4 separate regions of the Homo sapiens genome follow, and all the other regions are linked to region 4. Evidence: promoter capture Hi-C in 16 types of primary human blood cells and fetal thymus (Javierre and others, 2016). All regions are on one chromosome and are shown on one strand. The core of a region is centred on a gene start or on the middle of the fragment in contact, and the rest is flanking DNA. Distances in the headings are between cores, read along the strand shown.

The links. Contacts are between HindIII fragments. The CHiCAGO score rates a contact against its expected background, and 5 or more counts as called.
Region 1: a contact is called between a fragment that was not itself captured here and the fragment with the promoter of MAN2A2 in region 4, in 1 of 17 cell types (M0 macrophages). The highest score is 5.8, in M0 macrophages.
Region 2: a fragment that was not itself captured here is called in contact with the fragment with the promoter of MAN2A2 in region 4 in 11 of 17 cell types (M0 macrophages, M1 macrophages, endothelial precursors and 8 more); the score reaches 16.6 in M0 macrophages.
Region 3: a contact is called between a fragment that was not itself captured here and the fragment with the promoter of MAN2A2 in region 4, in 4 of 17 cell types (M0 macrophages, endothelial precursors, erythroblasts and 1 more). The highest score is 7.7, in M0 macrophages.

What each region holds. Positions count from the first base shown.
Region 1 is chr15:90,717,090-90,720,057 of GRCh38, reverse strand. BLM (BLM RecQ like helicase) reads right to left here and starts at 2,712. Exons shown (of 22, transcript NM_000057.4): 1 at 2,618-2,712. It overlaps CRTC3-AS1 (CRTC3 antisense RNA 1), which reads left to right and starts at 2,918. Exons shown (of 4, transcript NR_120372.1): 1 at 2,918-2,968. The HindIII fragment of the contact is 2,711 bases long and covers 7-2,717 here.
Region 2 is chr15:90,700,485-90,703,453 of GRCh38, reverse strand. The region is part of intron 2 of CRTC3-AS1 (CRTC3 antisense RNA 1); the gene reads left to right. Among named protein-coding and RNA genes, the nearest start is that of CRTC3-AS1, 15 kb to the left of the region's middle. The HindIII fragment of the contact is 199 bases long and covers 1,482-1,680 here.
Region 3 is chr15:90,679,203-90,682,365 of GRCh38, reverse strand. All of the region lies in intron 2 of CRTC3-AS1 (CRTC3 antisense RNA 1), which reads left to right. Among named protein-coding and RNA genes, the nearest start is that of LINC01585, 21 kb to the right of the region's middle. The HindIII fragment of the contact is 4,674 bases long and covers 1-3,163 here.
Region 4 is chr15:90,901,924-90,904,821 of GRCh38, reverse strand. MAN2A2 (mannosidase alpha class 2A member 2) reads right to left here and starts at 1,520. Exons shown (of 23, transcript NM_006122.4): 1 at 1,390-1,520; 2 at 483-632. The coding sequence starts at 614. RefSeq lists enhancers at 530-589, 2,430-2,479 and silencers at 1,540-1,969, 1,990-2,259. The HindIII fragment of the contact is 23,300 bases long and covers 1-2,898 here.

The DNA of each region.
Region 1 (2,968 bases), core at 113-2,612, 180 kb after region 4:
GAAGCTTTTCAAAGAACACTGAATTGGATATTGAAGGACAAGTGGAACTTTACAGACAGGACTGAGGTTGTGAAGAAGAGTAGTCTATGAACTAGTGGTACAAAGGCTGAGGTAGAATAGTATGTGTTAGCGATACAGAATGCTCAAAAGCCTCTGGTATCATGCCAAGGAGTTTAGATTTTATCCTACAGGTAGTGGAGACCCTTAGGGGCTTTCAGCACTGAAGTCCTAGGATTATTCTACGATTATCTTGGACCTCTTTATTCTATCCATTTTTCTCTTAGAAAAAAACACATATATATGTAAATTAAAATATATATGTATATCTTTTAATTTTTAATATTTCTTACATAAAGATACAGAAAATAGAATTACACCCATGTACCCACCAACCAAATTTAAAAAGTTAAACTCGGCCCTATTCTCTCTCTTTTAAAGGCATAAAACATTTCAGGTAGATTGACTGACGGACTCTCACTCTGTCACCCAGGCTGGAGTGCAGTGGTGCAATCTTGACTAACTGCAGCCTCCTGGGTTCAAGCGATTCTCGTGCCTCAGCCTCCCCAGTAGCTAGAACCACAGGCGCACACCACCACGCCCAGATAATTTTGTATTTACTATAGAGAGGGAGTTTCGCCATGTTGGTGAGGCAAGTCTCGAACTCCTGGCCTCAGGTGATTCGCCCGCCTCATCCTCCCAAAGTGCTGGGATTATGGGTGTGAGCCACTGTGCCTGGCCTCATTTCAGATATATTTAAAATCTCACTCATGGCCGGGCGCGGTGGCTCGCCTGTAATCCCAGCACCTTGGGAGGCGGAGGCAGGCGGATCACGAGGTCAGGAGATCGAGACCATCCTGGCTAACACAGTGAAACCCCGTCTCTACTAAAAATACAAAAAATTAGCTGGGCGTGGTGGTGGGTGCCTGTAGTCCCAGCTATTTGGGAGGCTGAGGCAGGAGAATGGCATGAACCCGGGAGGCGGAGCTTGCAGTGAGCCAAGATCGCGCCACTGCACTCCAGCCTGGGCGACAGAGCGAGACTCCATCCCCCAAAAACAAAAACAAAAACAAACTCACTCATTCCAGGAATGACTATGAAAAAGGAAAAAACAGATAAAAATTTAAAAATCAAAACAATAAACTATCACTCATTCCCCTTACCTTTTTCCCTTCCCTTCCTGCTCATAGGTAATACCACCTGTCCTGAAGCGGATGTGTAGAACTTCCCAGCATGATGATGTTCTACTGCACATCTAACACTTTTCCTGATTTTTTAACTCTTGGTTTCCTCAGTAAAACGAAGGAAATAACTACTTCTCCAGGTTACTGATAGGACTGTAAACTATACTTATAAGGTACCTGTCATGGTGAGTGGCATTGAAAGTGACACAGGACCCAGAAATTTCATTTCTTCCCAGTAGATTATAAGCTACTGTCTGACAGTATAAGCAGCCCAGCTAACAAAATGTTGATTTAATTAATTCTATTTACTATTCCCCAAACAGAATACTTTTGCCTACCCGCTTCTTCATCTTCTGATCTCTCATGCAGTCTCTCGAATTCCTGTCCCTTAATCTTGACAGTGACACACCAGTGTTATTTATCTGCATGGGTGGCACAAGGAGCTGTCAGTCACCTGCTCCATCTCACGCCATGAGGTACCTAAAGTTCTGTGTGACCTAAGGACAGGTGAGGGCTATAGGAGAAAGCCTAATGTTGTGGGACATACTTTAAAATCAGGCGCTTAGTTCAAATCCTGTATCTCTAGCACTTAATCACCAAATGCTCTTTCTGTACGGAGACAACCTCTTTGTACTTCAGATTCTCCATGTCTAAAATGGGGACAATTTCATCCGCTTCTCTGGGTAATGATAACAGAACCCTTACTGTGTACTATGTAACAGGTAGCCTTCGAAGCATTTATTATTGCATATATTAAGTCGTTTAATCCTAACAAAAACGCCAGGAAGTAGAAGAGACCATTTCCCCCATATGACAGACGAAAACCAAGACACTTAGTGTTTCAGTAACGTGCAGTAGACACAGAGCTAAATGTGAAGGAGCCAGAATTCGAACCCAAGCAATCTGATGCAGTATTCTTAAGCACTTCGCTTTGCTGGGATATCGTAAAGCTACAGTTGTAAGATCAAGGGTGCCAGGAACATGGCACACAGTAGACACTCAAAAACAAGAGTAGCCCAGCTCGTGATTATGGAAGGCCACAGAAAAAGTACAAAGTGTTTTCGTTGTTCCTCAGGAGGGACACGGAGGTAGTAGTGCCAGAGGTCTGGGCTGGGATTACTCTGTGCAGGGCATCATGTTACGCACTGGAGTATATGGGCAACAACATGCCAGGTCCTAGCCCATGCTCGGCCTCCGACGCCCCGGGAGACCTTGGCAGAGTTCGCCCCCGCCCCGGGCCTCTGTTTCCCCATTTGGGAACGTATTTATGTATCTGCTGTCCTCCCAGGATGTTGGCCAGACTAGAGGACTCAGCGGGCCGAGGCGAACCAGTGCAGGAAACGGAAGAACCCGAGCGGCCTCCAGCTCCGGGCCGGGCCGCCAGAGCAGGGCTAGATCAATGCGGACCGACCCGTAGTTACGCGCGCGGTACTCACCTCGCACGCAGACTCCTAGCGGACGGAACCAGGATCCAAACTTCCCGCGCCGCAACCACGGCCGCCGCGCCAAGCCCTGGCTCACTTCCCGCCGGAAGCTTGCCTATTCCGATTGGCTGCTTCCTGGGGAAGCCGACCAATACTGTCGCACTCGGACATCTGTTCCCGCCCCCTCAGGCTGCTGGGGCGGGGTCGCCGTACAGCGCCGGGAGGGACGCGTATCTCCAAAGCCCAATCAGAGTCCGGACGGGAGGGTCAGATGACTACGGTTACATCTCGGGCTTCCGGAGCTAGTTGGGTCTTTGTTTTTGGTGTTTTAGAGTCGGTGAAGGCTTTAAAGGAAGTAGGCAG
Region 2 (2,969 bases), core at 332-2,831, 200 kb after region 4:
ATGTGCCCTGGGGAGGCCCTATGTTGGGATACCTCCAGGATCACTTTATTTAGGTGTTTCAGGCCGCTTGGATTCCCCAGAGAAGCCTCTTTAAATGTTCCAATCTCCTGGTAATGCTCAGGGAGCCCAGTGGGAGAATAGAGCTGGACTCAGCATCTAACATTCAATAGCAGTAGTCACTTAAACCCTTATTTTTGGTACAGTACTCACATCCTCAACTATGCCTGGTTTCCTCAGTCCACAGACCTTTATTTTACCATCTGTAGGTACTAATGCCTCTTCTTGGAGACAAGGGAGGGGCAGTTGCTAATAAGTATGGAGTGGGTGAGGGGATCTCAGGATCTAGCTGCATCTCAAACTGCTTTCACCCAGTTCTCATTATTTTGGACCTCCTTTCACTCCCAATTCCAGAGATGCCTGGGTTCTGTCAGTTTCTGTGCCTTTTTAGGATACTGTGATGGTTAATATGTGTCAAATTGACTGGGCCAAGTGCCCAGATATTTGGACAAACATTATTCTGGGTGTTTCTGTGAGGGTGTTTTTGGATGAAATTAGCATTTAGGTGGGATCTGGTGGTTCATGCCTGTAATCCCAGCATTTTGGGAGGCCATGGTGGGAGGATTACTTGAGGCCCGGGTTTTGAGACCAACCTGGGCAACACTGCAAGACCCTGTCTCTACAAAAACAAAATAAAAAAGAAATTCGCATTTAAATCAGTAGACTTGAGTGAAGTCAATTGCTCTCTGTCTCGGTCTGCTCAGCCTACTATAATAAAATACCATACACATGCTGGTTAAACAACAGAAACATTTCTCACAGTTCTGGGGGCTGGAACGTCCAAGGTCAAGGTGCTAGGCAGTTTACCTTCTGGTGAGGAGCCTCTTGCTGGCTTGCAGATGGCTGCCTTCTCACTGTGTCTTCCTCACGTGGTGCAGAGAGAGATCTCTTGTGTCTCTTCTTACAAAGCCACTAATCCCATAATGAGGGCTCCCATATGCCCTTGTTGCTCCCAAAGGCCCCATCTCCAAATACCATCACCCTGAGGGTTAGGGCTTTAATGTGATTTGGGGGGGACACAAGTGTTCAGTTCATAACATTCCCCATAGTGTGGGTGGTCTCATCCAGTTAGTTGGAGGCCTGAATAAAGACTGACCTTTTGCCCCAGCAAGAGGTATTTTACAGCTGACTTACTTGGTCTGCTGAAAAATACCTCTTCATCCACACTACAGATTTTGGATTTACCAGCCAAATAATCATGCGAGCCAATTCCTTTTCTCTCTCACTGTCTTTGTCTTTTTCTTTCTGTCTCTCCTACATATGCGCTCGCACACACACACGCGCACACACACACACACACGCACACCCCTTATTGCCTCCTATTGTTTCTCTGGAGAACCCTGCCCACTACTGGCCCAAGAATGGTTCCTTCTTAGGTCAGCTAAGACAGTCACCACTCTTCTGCTTTCTAGGTTCCAAAAGCTTGCTGCTGTTGTCTCTCTCTCTCTTTTTGTTTGTTTGTTTGTTTGTTTTTCTTTTTTGAGACAGGGTTTTGTTCTGCCTGCCAGGCTGGCGTGCAGTGGCATCATCTTGGCTCACGGCAACCTCCGTCTCCCAGGCTCAAGTGATCCTCCCATCTTAGCCTCCCGAGTAGCTGGGACCACAGGCATGTGCCACCAAGCTTGGCTAATCTTTTTTTCTTTTTCTTTTTTTTTTGTTTTTGTTTGTTTGTTTTTGAGACAGTCTCCCTCTGTGGCCCAGCCTGGAGTGCAGTGGTGCAATCTCGGATCATTGCAACCTCTGCCTCCCAGGTTCAAGCAATTTTCCTGTCTCAGCCTTCCAAGTAGCTGGGATTATAAGTGTGTGCCACCATGCCTGGCTACTTTTTTTTTGGCATTTTTAGTAGAGACAAGGTTTCAACGTGTTGGCCAGGCCGGTTTGAACTCCTGGGCTCAAGTGATCCACCCGGTTTGGCCTTCCAAAGTGCAGGGATTATAGGCGTGAGCCACCACGCCTGACCTGCTGTCATCTGTTCTGTTCTCATTGTTGTAGACTTATTGTAGTTTTTACTATATATACAGTCACTTTACTATAGTAGGTTTTTGGGGGAATGGATCTAGATGTGCATGTTTAATCTGCAATTTCAGCCCAGAGCTCCTGGACTTCCTAATTCTTAAGAGTGATTTAAATAACAGAACGTTTCCTGGAAATTGTGTTCTTATGCAATATGTTAGCAGCCTTCTGTTGGTCTCCCCCTCATTAAAGGGCCTCAAAAGAGATTTCTTCTTTTTTTTTTTTGGCAGGGCCTTGCTCTGTTACCCATGCTGGAGTACAGTGATGCCATTATGGCTCACTGCAGTCTTGACCTCCAGGGCTCAAGCCATCCTCCCACCTCAGCCTCCTGAGTAGCTGGGACTACAGACATGCAACACCATGCCCAGCTAATGTTTAATTATTTTTTAATAGAGACCCAGTCTCATTTTGTCGCCCAGGCTGGTCCTGAACTCTTGGGCTCAAGCAATCTTCCCACCTCCCAAAATGCTGGTATCACAGGCTTGAGCCACCATACCCTGCCCTCAAAAGAGAGAAATTAATTAATTAATGTATTTATTTTTGAGACAGAGTCTCACTCTGTCGCCCAGGCTGGAGTACAGTGGTGTATCTTGGCTCACTGCAACCTCTGCCTCCTGGGTTCAAGCAATTCTGCTGCTTCAGCCTCCTGAGTAGCTGGGATTACAAGTGCACGCCACCATGCTCAGCTAATTTTTGTATTTTTAGTAGACACTGGGTTTCTCCATGTTGGCCAGGCTAGTCTTGAACTCCTGACCTCAAGTCATTCACCCACTTCGGCCTCCCAAAGTGCTGGGCTACATGCGTGAGCCACTGTGGCTGGCCAAAAGAGATTTCTTAATCTACCTTCCTTCTTGTGTACAAAAGGGCCACAAAGCTATTAAAATAAATCATAATTATGT
Region 3 (3,163 bases), core at 475-2,974, 220 kb after region 4:
TGAAGTAGTCATCCCATAAGTAGGGGAGCTAGGTGACACACAGTAGGTTGCCAAGTGTGGTGATGGCTACAGGCAAGATGTAAGAAAATGAAGGTTCCAGAGGTGGAGCCAGGACAGATTCCTGGAGGCCATTCGGGGGAGGGGGCTTCGATAGGATCCCCTAGTAGAGCCTGTGTACACTGGGGTCCATGACCCCGGCCCCTCAGCAGAGCTTCGCTGAAACCTGGAGTGGCACTGAGGATCTCTGGGAACAGTTCCTTCTTTTTTTTTTTTTGAGATGGAGTCTTGTTCTGTTGCCCAGGCTGGAGTGCAGTGGTGCAATCTCAGCTCACTGCAACCTCTGTCTCCCAGGTTCAAGCAATTCTCCTGGTTCAGCCTCTGGAGTAGCTGGGATTACAGGCACGTGCCATCACACTCAGCCAATTTTTGTATTTTTAGTAGAGACAAGGTTTCACCATGTTGGCCAGGCTGGTCTTGAACTCCTGACCTCAGGTGATCCTCCCACCTCAGCCTCCCAAAGTTCTGGGATTACAAGTATGAGCCGCCGTGCCCAGCCAGTTCCATTTTCTCTATTGCTGAAGGTCCTAGTGGTCACTCGTCCAACCTCCACATTCCTCAATGGCCCACATCAGATGAGTCAGTTCCTTCATCAGTGATGGCAGTGATTGCAGGGAACGCTCAGCCTCCTTGGCTCTGATTCTGCCTTACCAGAAGGGAGCCCTTCTGACTTGACCTCGTGGGTGCCATCGAGTGTGGTTCCAGCTCCGCATGTTCCTGACTACTCCTGCACAAGTCTGGGAGGTGAGGGATGTGGGAGGCGCAGCTCTCAGAGCCTCTTACAGAAACAACCAGCCTGGTGCTGCGGTGGCAAGAAACAGACACTGACCCCCGACCCCAAGGGAAATTCACAAGAAGGCTATGGAGTCCCTCACAACATGGAAGGGGAAATTGAAGAGCCTGGTCTGGAAAAGACAGAAAACAGGGAGGCCGTGGGGACCTAGAAGCTGGAACCAACTGAGAGTCTCATCTGGCCACACTGTAAAGATGTGTCAGCCCCAACCTCTTCTTGGCTTTTGCTTCCTCCATTCAAGGGTCAGAGTCTGAGTGCCTAGGTGGGCCCAGAGCCTTCCCTCTCCAGCCTCCCTGCTGCCCCAGAGAGGACAAACACCATTTCTGACTCCCCTACATACTCAGAGTGCATTCTCAGGATCACAGTAGAGGAAGGACTGAGAAAATAAGTGCTCATGAGGCTGATGGGCTGCCTTAGCTTTATCAGCAGCAGAAGAATTCTGGGATGCTCACCTCCCAGAAGACCCTCCACAGTTCCCAAGAGCCTCTTCATCCATAATGAGGGTGACAAAACTTCTCTGAGTCACAGACAGCTTTGAGACTGGGATGGAAACAGAGGATTGCATAAGTTTCAGGGGGCTGCTGGACCCCCATTCCTGAATCCTAACTCTGGGACACCTTCTCCAGCCCGTGTCTGCCTGGCTTAGCTGCAGGCCTCATACACTGTCTCCCTAGGACCTGCAGTTGAACCATTCCATGCTCACGGACACGTGGATTACATGAGCAGGGCCCTAGGCCTCCTCCTAACCTCAGATTTTTTTTTTTTTTTTTCTAAAAGGGCAAGGCACTATTTTAGTCACTGTTTTGCAGGGAGAAAAAAATCCTGTTTATCCTTATGATTCATTTTGGTGGTTTTTGGATAATGTTGTATTGATTCATGACGACTCACTCAGCATCTGGTATGAATTAAATGAGACTTTCTCTTTTTGACAGTAAAATGAAAGATCTTAAACAACGCTAACATTAAAAAGAGGCCTGGAGGGAATACAAGAGTTGGAGCAATCCTGGGGACTTGAGTCAGTTCAGTGGGATGCCCTACCACCTTGGCAAAGCCAGCACAGTGCCATGCAGTTCCAGGGCAGTGCTGCTTGTGACCTTATGTCTGCTCCTCATGAGTACCACGATGACTCCTTGCAGGTCCCATTGCTTCCCACCATATGCTGTTTTATCTTGTAGTCATGATCCCAACTGGACAAATGGGGAAACAGAGGCAGGAAGCTGGCATGGATGTGACATCAGGAGTCAGATTTTCTCTGGTTTGTTCCAGGAAGTTTTCCGTAGAATCCCAGAGGACATCCAGTGATTCTTAACGGGGGATGATTTTGGCACCCCCAGGGGTATTGGGCAATGTCTGGAGGCATTTTGGTTGCCACAACTAGGGAGGTGCTACTGGCATCTACCTGCAGTGTCAGAACAGCCTCCAAAGAACAAAATGATCCAGCCCACATGTCAATAGTGCCGAAGTTGAGAAACCCTGCTCTAACCCAAAGGGACTCCAAATCCCAAGTGATGTGGTGGTTGTCAGGGCATTAGCAGACTTAATGCAAAGGCCTCTCAATATGGCAAAACAGATTGTCTGAAAAATTATGTAATTTTTGTGTTTAAAAAGAGTAGAACCTGGGCAACATAGCAAGACCTTGTCTACAAACATATTCAGGCTGAGAAAATGAAAAATAAAAAAAGACCCTGTCTTGGCCGGGTACGGTGGCTCACGCCTGTAATCCCAGCACTTTGGGAGACGGAGGCAGGTGGATCACAAGGTCAGGAGTTCAAGACCAGCCTGGCCAGTATGGTGAAACCCTGTCTCTACTAAAAATACAAAAATTAGCTGGGCGTGGTGGCACGTGCCTGTAGTCCCAGCTACTCAGGAGGCTGAGGCAGGAGAATCACTTGAACCTGAGAGGCGGAGGTTGCAATGAGCCGAGATCGTGCCACTGCACTCCAGCCTGGGCAACAGAGTGAGATCTGTCTCAAAACAAAAGACCCTGTCTTTACGAAAACAAACAAACAAACAACAACAAATATATATAGAGAGAGACAGAGAGAGAGTGTCAGGTATGGTGGTATGTGCCTGTGGTCCCAGCTGCTCAGGTGACTGAAGCTAGTGGATCCCTTGAGCCCAGGAGTTCAAGGCTGTTGTAAGTCGTGACTGCCATGCACTCCAGCCAAGGAGACAGTGAGATCCTGTCTCAAAAAAAAAAAAAAAAAAAAAAAGTATATATCTTGCCTAGATCATGGTCTCTGTATGTCATTCTCTGCTAAAAGAAACTAGGGCTCCTGCCAAATGGCCAGTCCAAGGTTGGGGCAGCTGAAC
Region 4 (2,898 bases), core at 271-2,770:
GGAGTTCAAGACCAGCCTGGCCAACATGGCGATACCTCGTCTCGTCTCTACTAAAAATACAAAAATTAGTCGGGCATGGTGGCAGGCTCCTGTAGTCCCAGCTACTTGGGAGGCTGAGGCAGGAGAATTGCTTGAACCTGGGAGGCGGAGGTTGCAGTGAGCCAAGATCGCGCCACTGCACTCAAGGCTGGGCGACAGAGCGAGACTCTGTCTCAAAAAAAAAAAAAAGAAAGAAAAGAATTCAGGAGAACAGAGTGACAATACTCATTGCCATTGACATTTTTTCTTCCTTCCTTCTTTTCGCCATCACTGTTTTTAGCTGAGGGTTTCTACAAAACCTGACTATTGGGAAGGAAGGCTCCTGTCCTGTACTGACATTACCCTCCAGCGGGGGGTGGGAGGGGAGGCGGCGGGGTGGGAGGTGCATACCCTGAGCCCAGGTGACTTGTATACAAAGAAATTAGCAACCAGGCACGACTCACCCGGGGGAAGTTCCCACCATTCTGGTGTCGGGTGGGATCGTGTTGCACTCGGTCCAGCATGAGGTAGAGCGAGAAGACTGCCACACAGAAGATGGCAGCCCCACACACTGTCACCTGCTTTTTCAGCTTCATACTGGCCTCCACACACACCTGGCAGGAAGGACACCATCTGTAGCTCCAACATGCAAAATGCCCGTGGCAGTCTTTCCACCAAATACCCCAGTGAGTTCCTGAGGGCTGTTCCAAAGGAACACCCATTTGCCTGGCTCCAAGTAGCACAAGCAGCACATCTGAGGCTGGCCCACCTGGTCCTGGTAGCAGCTCTGCCGCTAGGGTGGAGAGGACGCTCTCCTTTGGCTGGTGCTATGAAAAACGGGCCCAGGATAAGAGTCCCAGCTCCGACTGGAGCGCACCACACAAGCTCCTGATTACACAGCTTCCCTGCCTAGATAGGAGGTGCCTGTTCAGGCTCCTCGGCCATGTGCTTCTAGTTTCAGGTGAATAAGCTAGTCTCTATTTTGTTTGATTTAAAAGTTTAGCCAGAACCCAAAGAGACTGATAGGAAAGCCTTTCTCAGTGCCCTTTCGGGTCAAACTGGCACTCACCAGAAACAGTGCCTGGCACGATCCTTTCTCAGAAACACAGAATGAGTTTCTTTCTAATAAAGAAGAAAGATGCTTGTGTTTCTAGCATAAAGCAAGCCCTGTGTGTTCTCCCTGTTTCTCTACTGTTCACTGCAGTGGGAAACTTCCAGCCGCGGTTTGCAGAGCACTTAGGGGACCCCTAGGAAGCCTGCAGTGACGCCGAAGGCCCCCTGGGAAGGGAGAGACGGGGCCCAGTGCTCAGCTGCGAGGCAACTTCAGGGGACCCGTGCCCCCCGCCGCCACCGCCCTCGGGCTCCGCTTGCCTGCTCAGGAGGAAGGAGGACGCTAACTGCGGAGCCGAGCGTGGGCGGGACCGCGCTCCGGAGTCTGCTCCGCGGGCCCTGGGGCCGAGGAGCTTTGTCGCCTCTGCGTTGTGCCCTACTTAGCGCGATCTGATTCTGCTCGGGAGCTTCCGGGCAATATTTTCAGCCCTTAGAGACTGGGTCTAGGCCAATGTGGGTGGAGCTGGGGAGAGAGTTGGATCACAGAGGGCAGGCACCTGCCGCCAGGTCTCTGGCCGCCCGCCCGGCTCCCTCCCCACCCGCTCCGACTTCGTCGGCCCCGGGGACCGCAGAGACAGGCGCCAGGTACGGGCCTCAGGCAGCCTCCTGTCCCTTCCTGGCCCCTCTGACGCCGCAGTGGCGCTCGCACTCCCGCCGCCCGAGCCCGGCCTCTGTCGGGGCAGCCGGAGCCCTCCCGCGCGCGCACCCGGCCCGTTACCGTCAGCGCCCGGCCTCCGCGCCGCTCCGGGCCCAGTCGGCCGAGCTGCCGGCTCTCACACGCCCGGGGACGGCGGCCCGCGTGCAGGCAGCGACGCAGGCGAAGGCGGGCGCCCGCCCACCCGTAGCCCCCTGCTCCGCGCGCCGCTGCCGCGCTCCCGCTGGGCCCCGGGCCGCCGGCGCGCTCCGCTGCGCCGGCCCCGCGCGGGTCCGCCAGCCTCTGAAGCTGCCGGGCCCAGCAGCGTGCGGGGCGGGGACAGCCGCGCCGCCCGCCCCGGCCTGCGTGTGCCCGGCGGAGCTGACAGGAGCTCTGGCCGCCGCGGTCCCCGCCCGGCTCCTCCCGGGCCCGCTCCGCTGGGCTGCAGTGCGCAGCCGCACCAGCCCGGGCCGGGCCTGGCCAGCTGCGGAACCTCAGGAGGGACGCGCGACTGAATTTTTTCGGAATCCTACTTGAGTAAGCGCATGATCGGGCAGTGGTCGAAACGCCCGCCTCCGTCTCGGCAGACGCGTAGCGGGGTGCGTTCTCCGCGGCCTCACCCGGCTCCGGCCCAGGTAGCCTTAGGTCTCTGTCGTTGCGCCCCTCGGGCAAAGGGGTGCTGCCTCCTGTCGGTACAGCGCATTCCTCGAGTCCCTTTCCTTTCCGTGCCTGCTCTATGTTTCCTGCCAGCGAGTGAACAAGACACAGACTTTTCTTGGCTGTTTCCCTTTTACTGGGCATCTAGGTTGTTTACAGTTTTTCAGTGTAATCCATACTGCAATGAACATCTCCATGAATTCCACATTTTTGTTCTTTTTAAGTTATATATAACATTATCTGAATGTGACCCCCCAAATTCATGTTCAAATCCTAATCCCTCAAGGTGATGATGGTATTAGGAGATGGGCCTTTGGGGGTGAACAGAGTTTGAAGGGAGAGCTCTCATGAATGGGATTAGTGCCGGTATCAAATGACCCCGAGAGTCGGCCCCTTCAACCACGTGAGAACACAGCTAGAAGGCACTATCTGTGCACCACAGGCAGGCCCTCACCCGACACTGAATCCGCTTATGCCTT